3 separate regions of the Homo sapiens genome follow, and all the other regions are linked to region 3. The links are contacts of gene promoters, found by promoter capture Hi-C in human tissues and cell types (Jung and others, 2019). All regions are on one chromosome and are shown on one strand. Each heading gives the region's core, a stretch centred on a gene start or on the middle of the fragment in contact. The rest is flanking DNA. Distances are from core to core; before and after follow the strand shown. Region 1 overlaps ENTPD6 (ectonucleoside triphosphate diphosphohydrolase 6). Region 2 overlaps ABHD12 (abhydrolase domain containing 12, lysophospholipase). Region 3 holds the start of ZNF337 (zinc finger protein 337).

What was found. The method cuts DNA at HindIII sites, captures the fragments that hold promoters and counts their contacts. A contact is called where the count stands out against the background at its distance.
Region 1: a fragment that was not itself captured here is called in contact with the fragment with the promoter of ZNF337 in region 3 in 1 of the 25 tissues and cell types used here (lymphoblastoid cells).
Region 2: a fragment that was not itself captured here is called in contact with the fragment with the promoter of ZNF337 in region 3 in 1 of the 25 tissues and cell types used here (hippocampus).

Annotation. Positions count from the first base shown.
Region 1 is chr20:25,204,427-25,208,158 of GRCh38, forward strand. ENTPD6 (ectonucleoside triphosphate diphosphohydrolase 6) reads left to right here. Exons shown (of 15, transcript NM_001247.5): 2 at 2,096-2,164; 3 at 2,650-2,971. The coding sequence starts at 2,111. Among named protein-coding and RNA genes, the nearest start is that of ENTPD6, 11 kb to the left of the region's middle. The HindIII fragment of the contact is 3,524 bases long and covers 1-3,296 here.
Region 2 is chr20:25,322,668-25,326,555 of GRCh38, forward strand. It overlaps ABHD12 (abhydrolase domain containing 12, lysophospholipase), which reads right to left. Exons shown (of 13, transcript NM_001042472.3): 3 at 658-763. Among named protein-coding and RNA genes, the nearest start is that of ABHD12, 66 kb to the right of the region's middle. The HindIII fragment of the contact is 7,604 bases long and covers 1-3,888 here.
Region 3 is chr20:25,694,911-25,698,857 of GRCh38, forward strand. ZNF337 (zinc finger protein 337) reads right to left here and starts at 1,943. Exons shown (of 5, transcript NM_015655.4): 1 at 1,849-1,943. LOC107985400 (a long non-coding RNA gene) reads left to right here and starts at 2,131. Exons shown (of 2, transcript XR_007067557.1): 1 at 2,131-2,253. RefSeq lists an enhancer at 1,347-1,456. The HindIII fragment of the contact is 16,641 bases long and covers 1-3,947 here.

The DNA.
Region 1 (3,732 bases), core at 285-2,784, 490 kb before region 3:
CAATTTATTTGCCTTGTTGGCTCCATTAAACTTTTACAAAGCTTTATATATATATATATATATCTTACTTTCTCAAAGTCTCCCCCAGTCCCTCCTTGGGCCTCAGATGTTCTACTGTATTTCTCACCTGTCATTCTTGCCCCAGGTATGCGTGGGGCTATAGTCATCCTACAGCTTTGCCTAGCAGTGCCCATAACCATTTCCCTGACTTCCTATCTGGGCTCTGAGCTCAGAGTCAGGTGAAACAGAGATCTGTTCCTCAGGCAGCCCAAGACAGATTAGGATGTTGCAGAAAGGTCCGCTCTGCTCCCTCCAGTTCAAGGGAAGGAATTGGGAACCGGGCTGCCGCATTCATCAGGTGGTGCCATGCTGGGGAGGCCTGGGGCAGGGGTGAGTGAAACACCTCAGAGTTCCTGACATCCTGAATGTGGCTGCTTCTGGGCTGGGCATTCTCTTGGTTGCTGTAGATCGTTGCCTGTTTTGCAGAGCTCCTATGCAATATTTTAACCAGTCTCTAGTTGTTTTTAGTGTTTCTCTGTGGGGGAACAAGGGCCTTTGAGCTTCCTCTTTTGCCGTCTTGCTGTGTCCTCTCCCTGTTTATGGATTTTCTACAGGACTCTGTTGTGTGTCTGGTGACGTTATAGAAGGTGCGGGGGTAGAGGAGCAGCCTCTTCCATTCTAGAGAAGGGCTTGGATGCCATGCTGGGCAGCAGCAGCACAAGACAAGCTGAGTCCCTGCCCTGGGGGCTCATGGCCTAGTGGGGAGACACAGACCTACAGGAATCAGGTCTATGAATACTGGTTTCATCACTGCTGGTGGTGGGTAAAGGGAGCTCAGAGAGTGCGTGATGGGGCATGTGCAGGTTGGGGGCATCCGGGAAGGGGGTGGCAGTGACATTTCAGTGGAGGTTTCAGAATGAAGACACGGTGCCAGTGTGGTGGGACAAGTATTCTGGGAATGCGTATCAGTCTGTGCCAGGGGCCTGAGGCAGGGAGAGGCTGAGTTCTAGGGGCAGAAGAAGGCACTGTTCTCAGAGCACTGTGGGCAAGGACGAAAGAGGAGTGCGATGAAGCCACAGGGGCCAGCAGGGACAGGGGCCGGCAGGGACAGGCCCAGGCAGAGGCTGCAACATGATCCTGAGAGCTGTGGGAAGCCCCCGAGTGTGGTGGGACCCAGGCCCAGAATAGGGCTGGGGAGGGGCTGCACGTTGGCACCTGCCAGGAGAGGCTTTTTGCAGCCCTGCCCGTGGCAGATGCTCAGGGAAGGGTGGTTTTTCCTGTCTCCTGCTCCAGTGTGGGTGGCCAGGCCACTGGTGAGGCCTCTCCCCTCGGCACGGGGCACTGTGGCAGTGCTTGTCTTACCTCTCTGGGCCTGAGGATATCCAGCTGTGGCCACAGGCGGGACCTCAGGAAGGAGGGGCCAGGAATGGCCTGCTCCCCGTGCTTTGCCCCGCGGGCCCTGTCCTTCCGTTCTGCTGTGCCCAAACAGCCTCAGGTAGCGCAGGTCGCTGCGGGCTTGCTCCTTTGACTGCTACTGCCCCCTCCTCAGCAGTGCAGCCATGCTGTCCTTGGTTCCACAGAGATGTCACCTCCTGCTGCCCTTCTGTAAAGCCCGCATGTGGCACGTGCTTTCCCTGCAGCCTGTTCTGAGCACATTGAATCCCCACAGTCACGAGGGGCTCTCCAATGAGCAGCCCCACCTTGCAGATGAAACTGGCCCCCTTGAGGGGCATGTTGCCCACTGTCACACGTAGCTGCGGGCAGAGCCGGTGCCACTTCCAGCCCGGCATCCTCCTGATCCCTGCTCCCCTAGGAGTGGCCACTCACCAGGACCGACTGAGAGAGTGAGGGAGGGACAGGCTGATGGACGTTCCCCAAGGTTGGGGGCCCTAGAGTCGGCCCACACTTCTTGTCCTTTGAAGCCTCAGGTTCCCACATGCTGCCTCGCACTGGAGCAGCCAATGAAACTTGAACAAATGCTTTCATTTTGGGTATATCGAACCAAAAACAATGGCACCCAGTGAATTTATTTTGCTACTCTAGTAGAATTTTTGTAGGCTTTGGAAGTACACAGACATTATTTTCTCCTTGGCAGGAATGGGCTATGTGAATGAAAAAAGGTATCCGTTATGAAACTTCCAGAAAAACGAGCTACATTTTTCAGGTTTGTCTGGGGCTCTCAGTAGTTGCCCAAGGGACGGAGTTTAAACCTTTCGAAAAGTAAATTGCCTGAATAGAAGTATAACTGAGGATTGAAAGACTGAATCAGATACGCGCTTCTGTTCCCATGAACAGTTTGGGAACACCATTTACATGTGGCTTCTTTTACATAAATCGCCATGTGTCCCAAGCTGGTGGGACCCTCCCTTAGAGGAGCCAGCCACTGTGGTCTGTGCACCAGGTCAGCAGCTGCAATGTGTGCGACCTTGAGCAGGCTGTCCTGCCTTTATAAACCTCAGTTCCTCTTCTGTAGGATGGGGATCACACCTTCTGGAATAATTATGAGGCTCAAATGAAGCTTCTGATTCCTGGGGGGAACACGGAGCAGTTTCAGGTTGAACATTTTGTCCCTGGGCCTGGGGACGTCTGACTCTCCTTGGATCCTAGCACCCTAACGTGCTTTTCCTGCCTCTCCCCCCTTCCCACCAGCAGCCGCAGCACGGTCCTTGGCAAACAAGGATGAGAAAAATATCCAACCACGGGAGCCTGCGGGTGGCGAAGGTGGCATACCCCCTGGGGCTGTGTGTGGGCGTGTTCATCTATGTTGCCTACATCAAGTGGCACCGGGCCACCGCCACCCAGGCCTTCTTCAGCATCACCAGGGCAGCCCCGGGGGCCCGGTGGGGTCAGCAGGCCCACAGCCCCCTGGGGACAGCTGCAGACGGGCACGAGGTCTTCTACGGGATCATGTTTGATGCAGGAAGCACTGGCACCCGAGTACACGTCTTCCAGTTCACCCGGCCCCCCAGAGGTACCCGCCTCTCATGGCAGGGCTCTCGGGATCTCCTCCCCTGTGCTACAGTGTTGGCCGGGTCCCCTGCCACAGACTCACCTGGGAGCTTGTCTAAATGCAGTTTCCCAGAGATGCTGACGCTGGTATGGGCTGGGGTCCAAGCATCTGAATTTCCCGGGAGTCCCAGATCACTCTTACACTAGTGAGTGGTGACCATGCTGAAGGGCAGCTGAGACCTTGAGGTGTTTGGTGGCCTGTCCCCTCCCCACATTCACCAGCAGGTCAGGTGGCTAGGACCATGATTTAGGCCAGTGGTTGTGTTTGGGGCTTTGTGGGGAGTTCAGGCAGGAAGTATCCCCAGATTCAGTCCCATGGGAGCCAGAAAATCAGGAAAGTCAGATAAATAATAAAGGCTCCTGGGCTTGACCGGGAGCTGCCAGGTGGGCCAAGATGGCCAGGGGCAACAGCCGAGAGGGGTCTCAGCTGGATAAGGGAGCTGGAGCCTGGGCTTCGTTGGCTATGCTTCTAGGGTGGGCCTCAGGCCGGGGTGGGCGGCTTCTCTTGAGGGGTCCCCCTCGCCACCCGGTTCCTCTGCTCTCCAACCACCCTCTTCCCTTGGTTCCCTGATGCCCCTCTCGTGCCCGTGACCCTGAGGTTCGCCCTCCATGTCTCTCTAGCTGTAGCCAGTGAGAGTTTGCAGCCCCTGTCAGGCAGGTCCCCTGGGTGTCCCATGCTCTTCTTGGCTGACCTGGAACCTGTGGGGTAGACACCATCCTGGC
Region 2 (3,888 bases), core at 935-3,434, 370 kb before region 3:
AGCCACCGCGCCTGGATGGAAGATATATTCAAACCAGTGTTTGTGATTCTTCCCTTATATTCTCTTTTTTTTGGACACAGAGTCTTGCTCTGTCATCCAGGCTGGAGTGCAGTGGCGTGAACTCAGCTCACTGCAACTTCTGCCTCCTGGAGTCAAGTGATCCTCCTGCCTCAGCCTCCCAAGTAGCTGGGATTACAGGTGTGCACCACCATGCCTGGCTAATTTTTGTATTTTTAGTAGAGATGGGGTTTCACCTTGTCGCCAAGGCTGGTCTCAAACTCCTGGACTCAAGTGATCCACTTGCCTCAGCCTCCCAAAGTGCTGGGATTACAGGTGTGAGCCACTGTGCCGGCCACTTATATCCTGTTTCTAGCTTCTTTGTTTGCTTTTCGTTTTTCCTAGAAACAAGTCTCTCTAAAAATAATAATCTGTTCACAAAGCCTTTGCTGTTTTGAAAGGCTGGGAATAGAGTTTAAAGCCATTGAATCCCTCAACATTAGGATGGATCAAATGTACTGAGATCTTTCCTTTAGGAAAGGAAGAGGTGAAGATAAAAATGAACAACATTTCAGAGGCCAATGTCAAAGACAGCACCAGCTCAGTCATGTAGGGTCCTTTCCTGCTGCTGGAGGGGCTGCAGAGCTCACTGGCACTCACCAGACTCCAATGGTCACGTCTTCCTCTGGCTGCAGGTAGTAGTTACACGTGTGATTCAAACCTTGATCCTGTGGTTTTTTCAAATCAATGAAATAGGGAACTCTTACTGTAGGAAATAAAGAGATGGAAATTAGGATTACTGGTGGATGAATACACACATGTACACACAAACATGCATACTCACACACGTGCACAGATATGCATCCACACGTGCACACACACACATGCACACCCACATGCACACACTGCAGAAGCTCTCAGAAAGCACCAAGTCCTTTTCCTGTGCAATCTTACAATGGTGCCAGACCTGCAGGCCCAGCCTCAGGCAGGGTATGGGCTGAGGCCAGCCAGCATGGGCAGGGACAGAGACTGCAGTGAGGGCAAGGTCTGTGTAGAGACTGGAACGCTAAGGTCTAAGGTCATTCTAGGTGTGAGAAGATGCAAATGAGGGAAGGAAAGATCCCCAACAGGTCTGAAGGATGGGCCAGCCAGGAGGGAGGCTGGGGAGGCTGAGCCTGCGAATAACTCAGGTGCCTGGTGGAGTGGGAAGGACAGCAGGAAAGGGGATGGCGCTGCAGGACCTGATGACCAACGGAACGTTGGGTGGCAAACAAGGTAAAGGGGATTCCAAAGTTTCCAGGACTGCTGCCTAACACAGAAAAGACAGCAGAAGGTGAGGTGTGGGGCAGCGAGGGGGATGAATCCATAGGACCCATGCAGAGCAGAATGAAGTCAGTGCAATGGCCCAGCAGAAGTCCTGCATCTACCAGGTCATCTGCCAGCAGGACAGCGAGTGAATTAACCAGCACCTCACACTGTGGAAGACCATGGGGCCCTTAGACCTGGAGGAACCTCCAGGACCTGCGGGCAGATGAGAGGAGCAAGGTGACTGTGGGTGCGGGTGCGGTAGCCCCACTTTGTTATTGTAAAAACATGCAAATGAAACACGACCTCCACATGTGGCTGGGAGGATATACAGAAAGACAGAAGCCAGGCTGCTCACACAGCTTCAAAGTGTGTGTGTGGGGAGAATGGGGGCAATTTTTTCCTTATATACCATTGTAGTCTTACTGCTTTTGGTGAACACAACTTTAAAATAAGTTTAACTGAAAAACAAAAAATTTAAAATAAACGCATGAACCCTGAGGTGGGATTTGCCTGCTTTATAAAATGGCAACTCCCAAAAGAGGCAATGACAGAGAGCAGTGTGGGCCTGGCTTCCCTCTGGTGGGTCCTGCCCCCGGGGAAGCTCTGCTGCTGACAGCTGTCTCTGGTGAAGACAGGGGTTGCGTGACTCCCATGTCCATGTGGCACATTGCACATCTAGCCTCACTTCCTCAAATGTCACCAGGCTGGACTCACGAGGACATGGGGACATACACACTCCTTCCCAGAAACTCCCTGAGCGTCTGTCCCAGACCATGTGGGGAGACAGTTCCTACCACCAGGGCTGCTGTTCATACCCCACCTTCTTACTCCATCTCTTTCCCAGGAAGCAGATACATCTTCAAAATTTTAGTAAGAAGTTTCTCTCAAAATAAAAAATGGCAAAGGAGATGATCCACATCCCCATTAGCTCCAGCTGAGCCAGGCTGCACAGTCTCTGAGGCAAGCCACCACCATCACCATCTGATGGCTCCTATTAGATTGCCAGCTCACATGACGGAGCTGGATTTTTTGATACCAGCCTGGGCAACACGGCAAAACCCCACCTCTACAAAAAATATAAAAATTACCCAGGTAAGGTGACATGCACCTGTGATCCCAGCCACTTGTGAGGCTGAGGAGGGAGAATCACTTGAGCCCAGGAGGTCAAGGCTGCAGTAAGCCAAGGTTGTACCACTGTACTCCAGCCTGAGTGACAGAGAGACCCTGTTTCAAAAAAAAAAAAAAAAAAAAAAAAAAAGAACTGGCTTTGAACCCGGCAGCCCGGCTGCACAGCCCTGCCTCCTGGCTGGCTGGACAGGAAGTCAGGGAGGTAATGAGCCTGGCCCCTGAGAGGCCTGGGAGGCCCGCCTGCCCTGTTATGGGCTGAGTTGTGCTCCCCAAAAAAGACTATGTTCAAGGCCTCACCCCCAGTACCTAAGAGTGTGACCTTACTTGGAAACAGTGTCTTTATGGAGGTAATCAAGCTCAAATGAGGTCACTGGGTGGATACTAACCCAACATGACTGGTATCCTTATAAAATGGGGACATTTAGACACAGAGACAGAGGGAAGACCATGAGAAGATGACCAAGAAGATGGAGAAGATGGAGGCAGAGATTTGAGGGAAGCTTCTCCAAGCCGGGAATGCTGCCAGACAGACAGGCAAGAAGGGTCCACCTCAGCATCTCAGGAGGAGCTGGGCCCACCCACACCTCGACCTCAGACTCCCAGCCTCCACAACCATGAGAGGATACATTTATTTTAAGCCACTCAGTTTGCAGGTTTGTTTGAGCGGCCCTAAGAAATAAATGCAGCCAGCCAGGCGTGGTGACTCATGCCTGTAAACCTAGCACTTTGGGAGGCCGAGGCAGGTGGATCACCTGAGGTCAGGAGTTCGAGACCAGCCTGGCCAACATGGCAAAACCCCGTCTCTACTAAAAATATAAAAATTAGCCAGGCGTGGTGGTGTGCACCTATAATCCCAGCTACTTGGGAGCCTGAGGCAGGAGAATGGCTTGAACCCGGGAAGAGGAGGTTGCAGTGAGCTGAGATCATGCCACTTCACTCCAGCCTTGATGAAAGAGTGAGACTCTGTCCAAAAAAAAAAAAAGAAAAGAAAAAAGAAAGGAAAGAAGTGAAGGGGAGGGGAGGGGAGGGAAGGGAAGGGAAGAAAGAGAAGAGAGAGGAAGGAAGGAAGGGAGAGAGGTAGGGAGGGAGTGGGGGGAGGGAAAGAAAGGAAAGAAAGGAAAGCAAGGAAGGCTCTTCTGCAACAGGAAACAATTGAAGAAACTGGTTATTTTACCAAGGCTTTGACTGGAATGGCCTGCTTTCCTTTAAGGATTCAAAGGACTTATAGCGCCAATAAAAGCCCCGTGGGTAAAACTGGCCTCATAACTTGTCTATACAGTCCCCATACAGGGCTCCTGACCTGTGGTAAAGAATGTCACTTTCTAATAGGCCCAGGAGGCCCAAGTTATTTTAGGACCTCAAGAGGAGAGGAATTTACCAAACTCATAGGTATTTGAGGATAGAAACCCATGGCTGGACTCAGCTTTTAAAAAGTCTTATCTGAGATTCCTTATG
Region 3 (3,947 bases), core at 693-3,192:
CATCTGCAGCGAATCTCCATTAATGTAGCCAGACCTCCTTTGTTCTAAGCCTTTCTTAGGTCTGGAAGAGACAGCCAGCCTGACGCGCGGTGGCTCACGCCTGTAATCCCAGCACTTTGGGAGGTAGAGGTGGGTGGATCACCTGAGGTCAGGAAGTCAAGACCAGCCTCAGCAACATGGTGAAACCCCATCTCTACTAAAAATACAAAAATTAGCCAGGCGTGGTGGCGGGCGCCTGTAGTCCCAGCTACTCAGGAGGCTGAGGCAGGAGAACTGCTCAAACCTGGGAGGTGGAGGTTGCAGTGAGCTGAGATCACGCCACTGCACTCTAGCCTGGGCGACAGAGCAAGACTCTCTCTAAAAACAAAAACAAAAACACAAAAACCCAAAAAACTGAAAACAGACATTTACCATCTATTCTGAGAGTTGCCAACTAAGAGGCTTCATCTACATAATAAGAACTTTGATCTACGCAATCCCCTTAACTCTGGCATGCTTCTGATTCCAGTCTTCAGGCAGTAGCTTAAGTCTCTCAACCAACTGTCCACTAAAGAATCCCTAAGTGCCCCCATGAGGTGTAAACCCTTTGGAGATATACCAGCTTTTTGGGAGGAACCCGTGTATATCTTTCTCTTATTGATTTATGATTTTCTTTTTGGAGGCAGGATCTCGCTGTGTTACCCAGGCTAGCGTGCAGTGCAGCCAACATAGCTGGTTACAGCCTCCACCTCCTGGACTCAACTGACTGGGCCTCCCAAGTAGCTGAGGCCACAGGCATGGGACACCACGCCCCGCTAATTTTTTTATTTTTCTAATTTCATGTAGAGACAGGGTCTTGCTGTGCTGCCCAGGCTGCTCTGGAACTCCTGGCCTCCCAAAGTGCTGGGACTACAGGCATGAGCCACACTGCTCAGCCTGATTTATGACTTTACCTGAAATTCCTGTCTCCCTGAATTGTATAAAATTAACCTGCAAGCCTGACCATCTCGGGCACTTTCACAGGACCTCTTGAGGCTGAATAACCTGGGCCACAGTCACTCATACTGACTAGGAATAAACCTTTTTAAATATATTTTGGCAGAACCCGGATTTTGCCGTCATTAGCAAGGCCCCAGGGAAGAGGCCACCTGGGTCCCCACAGCCACCTCACCTCCCGCGGACGCTGCCCCACGCAGATCCCCCCCCCCCCCCACCAAAACACGTCTAGACGTGCCCGTGCGAGGACATTTGGTCCCGGCCTACACTCCTATCCGCGGAAGATCGTCCCAAGGCGGGGTGCTCCCAACCCAAAGCAGCGGCCCTTCCCCAAAACACGCGGGCGAAGTCCTCCCCTGTCCCGCCTCCCACAATAAAGTCTGGAGCATCAGAGTCGGAGGGAACCCGAGTCGGACCTAGCCCATCCGTCTCATGGCTGTAACCCCCACCCCACCAGTGGACCCTGGCTGTGGCCGAGTCCCCCTCCACCTCCGGCCAAAAGACCCCCGTGGCAGCTCGCTAGGCCGCTGGCCCGTCCCCACCCGAGGAGCGGCGACCCTGGCACAAGAGGACCTGGGTTGCTCGGCGCCCCTGTGAAATCCGGGCTGTTCACCGCCCGAGCCGCCACTACACGCAACCGGGAACGGAGACTGAGTGGCGGCCCAGACCCGGGGCGCTCGGCAAGCCGCAGCCCCACCGCCCACTTCAAGGCGCGGCCTGGGTCTCCGCCCCTCCCCAGAACGCGGAGACGCCGGGCCTGGAGGAGCGCGCGCTACGGCCCCAGCAGCGCCCTCACGTCCCAGGCCTTCCCGGCCCTTCTTCCTGCGCCGGAAGGGCGCGCTGCAGAGAGGGACCCGCAGGAGCGCAGCTCACCGGGGCGGCTGAGGGCGAACCGAGGCGGTGAGGTCACCGATGGTGGACCACGCATCTCACGGCTCGCTGACGCCCAGGGATCTGGAACGCTCTGCGCCGCCCGGGACTACACTACCCAGAATCCTCAGCGCGGCCGGGACTACGCTACCCAGCATCCTCGGCGCGGCCCGGAGGCTATGCGACCCTGCGCGTCGCATCCCCTCGGTGGACTACACTCCCCAGAGTCCTCGGGAGTCGTCCAGGTACACGCCCCAGAATATTGGTCATAGCGGTCCACCCGGGACTGCGCGACCCGGAATCCTTGGAAGGACTTCTCGGAAGGACTCCTCTCTGACAGGTGGGGCGAGCCTATGGTCGTTTGGACGTGGAGGGATCCTTTCAGAACCGGCGATTTCTTTTATTTAGGTAGCCCTATACATACATTAAGCATATTTTCCCATTTCTATGATATAGGTAAATAATTTTCCCACTGTCTTTTGATTATGGGTATGTCTTTTTTTTTTCTTTTGTTTCTTTTTTTTGCTATGTAGTACTTTTGATCTCTGATTTTCCTACGGATTTTGTGGTTTTATCATTCACATTTAGATCTCTCAATGGTTTAATTTTTCTCCAGGTACACACTGTAAATATACAATTATTTTTAAAATTTTCTAATATTTTATTAATTTCCCATTAAATTTATTAAAAATATAGTCTTTTACCAAATAATTTAAGGTTTCAGCTACATAATTCAGTATACTCAATTTACATTTGCATTTCAATTTCTAATTGTTCCCCCATTTATCTAATTATGCATCAATGCCAGAATTCTTTCATTATGTAGGGTGTATAATATGCTGATATCTTTTGTGGCTTGCCAAACCACGTAGACTTTATATTTCAGGCCTTTACTAGGTATACTTGCTGTTTGCTTTTTCTCTTTTGGTTTTTAAATTTTTAATTATTCTGGATAAATATTAGTTGTACATATTTATAGGGTACATGTTATGTTTTGATACAGGCATACAGTGTTTAATGGTCAAATGAGGGTGATTGGGGTATCCATCCCCTCAAGCATTTAGCATTTCTTTGTTTTAGGAAGTTTCCAATTCTCTCTTATTTTTAAATATATAGTAAAATTGTTCTTAACTATAGTCACTGTATAGTGCTACCAACTACTAGATCTTATTCATTCTAACTGTATTTTTGTATCGATTAACAAGTCCCTCTTTATCTCCTCTACCCACCATCCTTCCCAGCCTCTGTTAACTATCTCATTCTACTCTCCATCTCCATGAGTTCACGTTTTTAGCCCCACAAATGAGTGAGCACATGTGATATTTGTCATGCTGTGCCTCATTTCGCTTAACATAATGTCCTCCATTTTCATACATGCTATTGAAAATGACAGAATTTCATTCTTTTAATGACTGGCTAATATCCCATTGTGTTAATGTACCACACTTTCCTTATCCATTCATCTGTTGATAGACACTTTGATTCTATATCTTTACTATTTTGGATAGTGCTGTAGTAAACATGAGAGTGCAGATATATCCTTGAAATACTGATTTCCTTTCTTTTGGATATATACTCAGCAGTGGGATTGCGGGATCATGTATATATTTATTAATTCTTTTGAGGAACCTCCATACTGCTCTCCATAGTGGTTGTACTAATTTACATTCCTAACAACAGTGTATGAGGGTGTATCCACACCCTCACCAGTATTCACTATTGCCTGTCTCTTGAATAAAAGCTATCTTGACTGGGGTGACATTATATCTCATTGCGGTTTTGATTTACATTTCTCTGATGATTAGTGGCATTGAGCATTTTTTTTCATACACTTGTTGGCCGTTCATATATCTTATTTTGAGAGATGCCTATTCAGATCTTTTCTCCATTTAAAATATCAGATTGTCTTTTTCCTATTGAGTTGTTTTAGCTCCTTATATATATTCTGGCAATTACTTTCTTTTCAGATGGATAGTTTGCAAATTTTTTCTCCCATTCTGTGGATTGTCACTTCACTTTGTTGATTGTTTCCTTTGCTTGCAGAAGATTTTTATGTGATGTGGTCTCATTTGTCCACTTTTGCTTTAGGTGCTTGTGCTTTT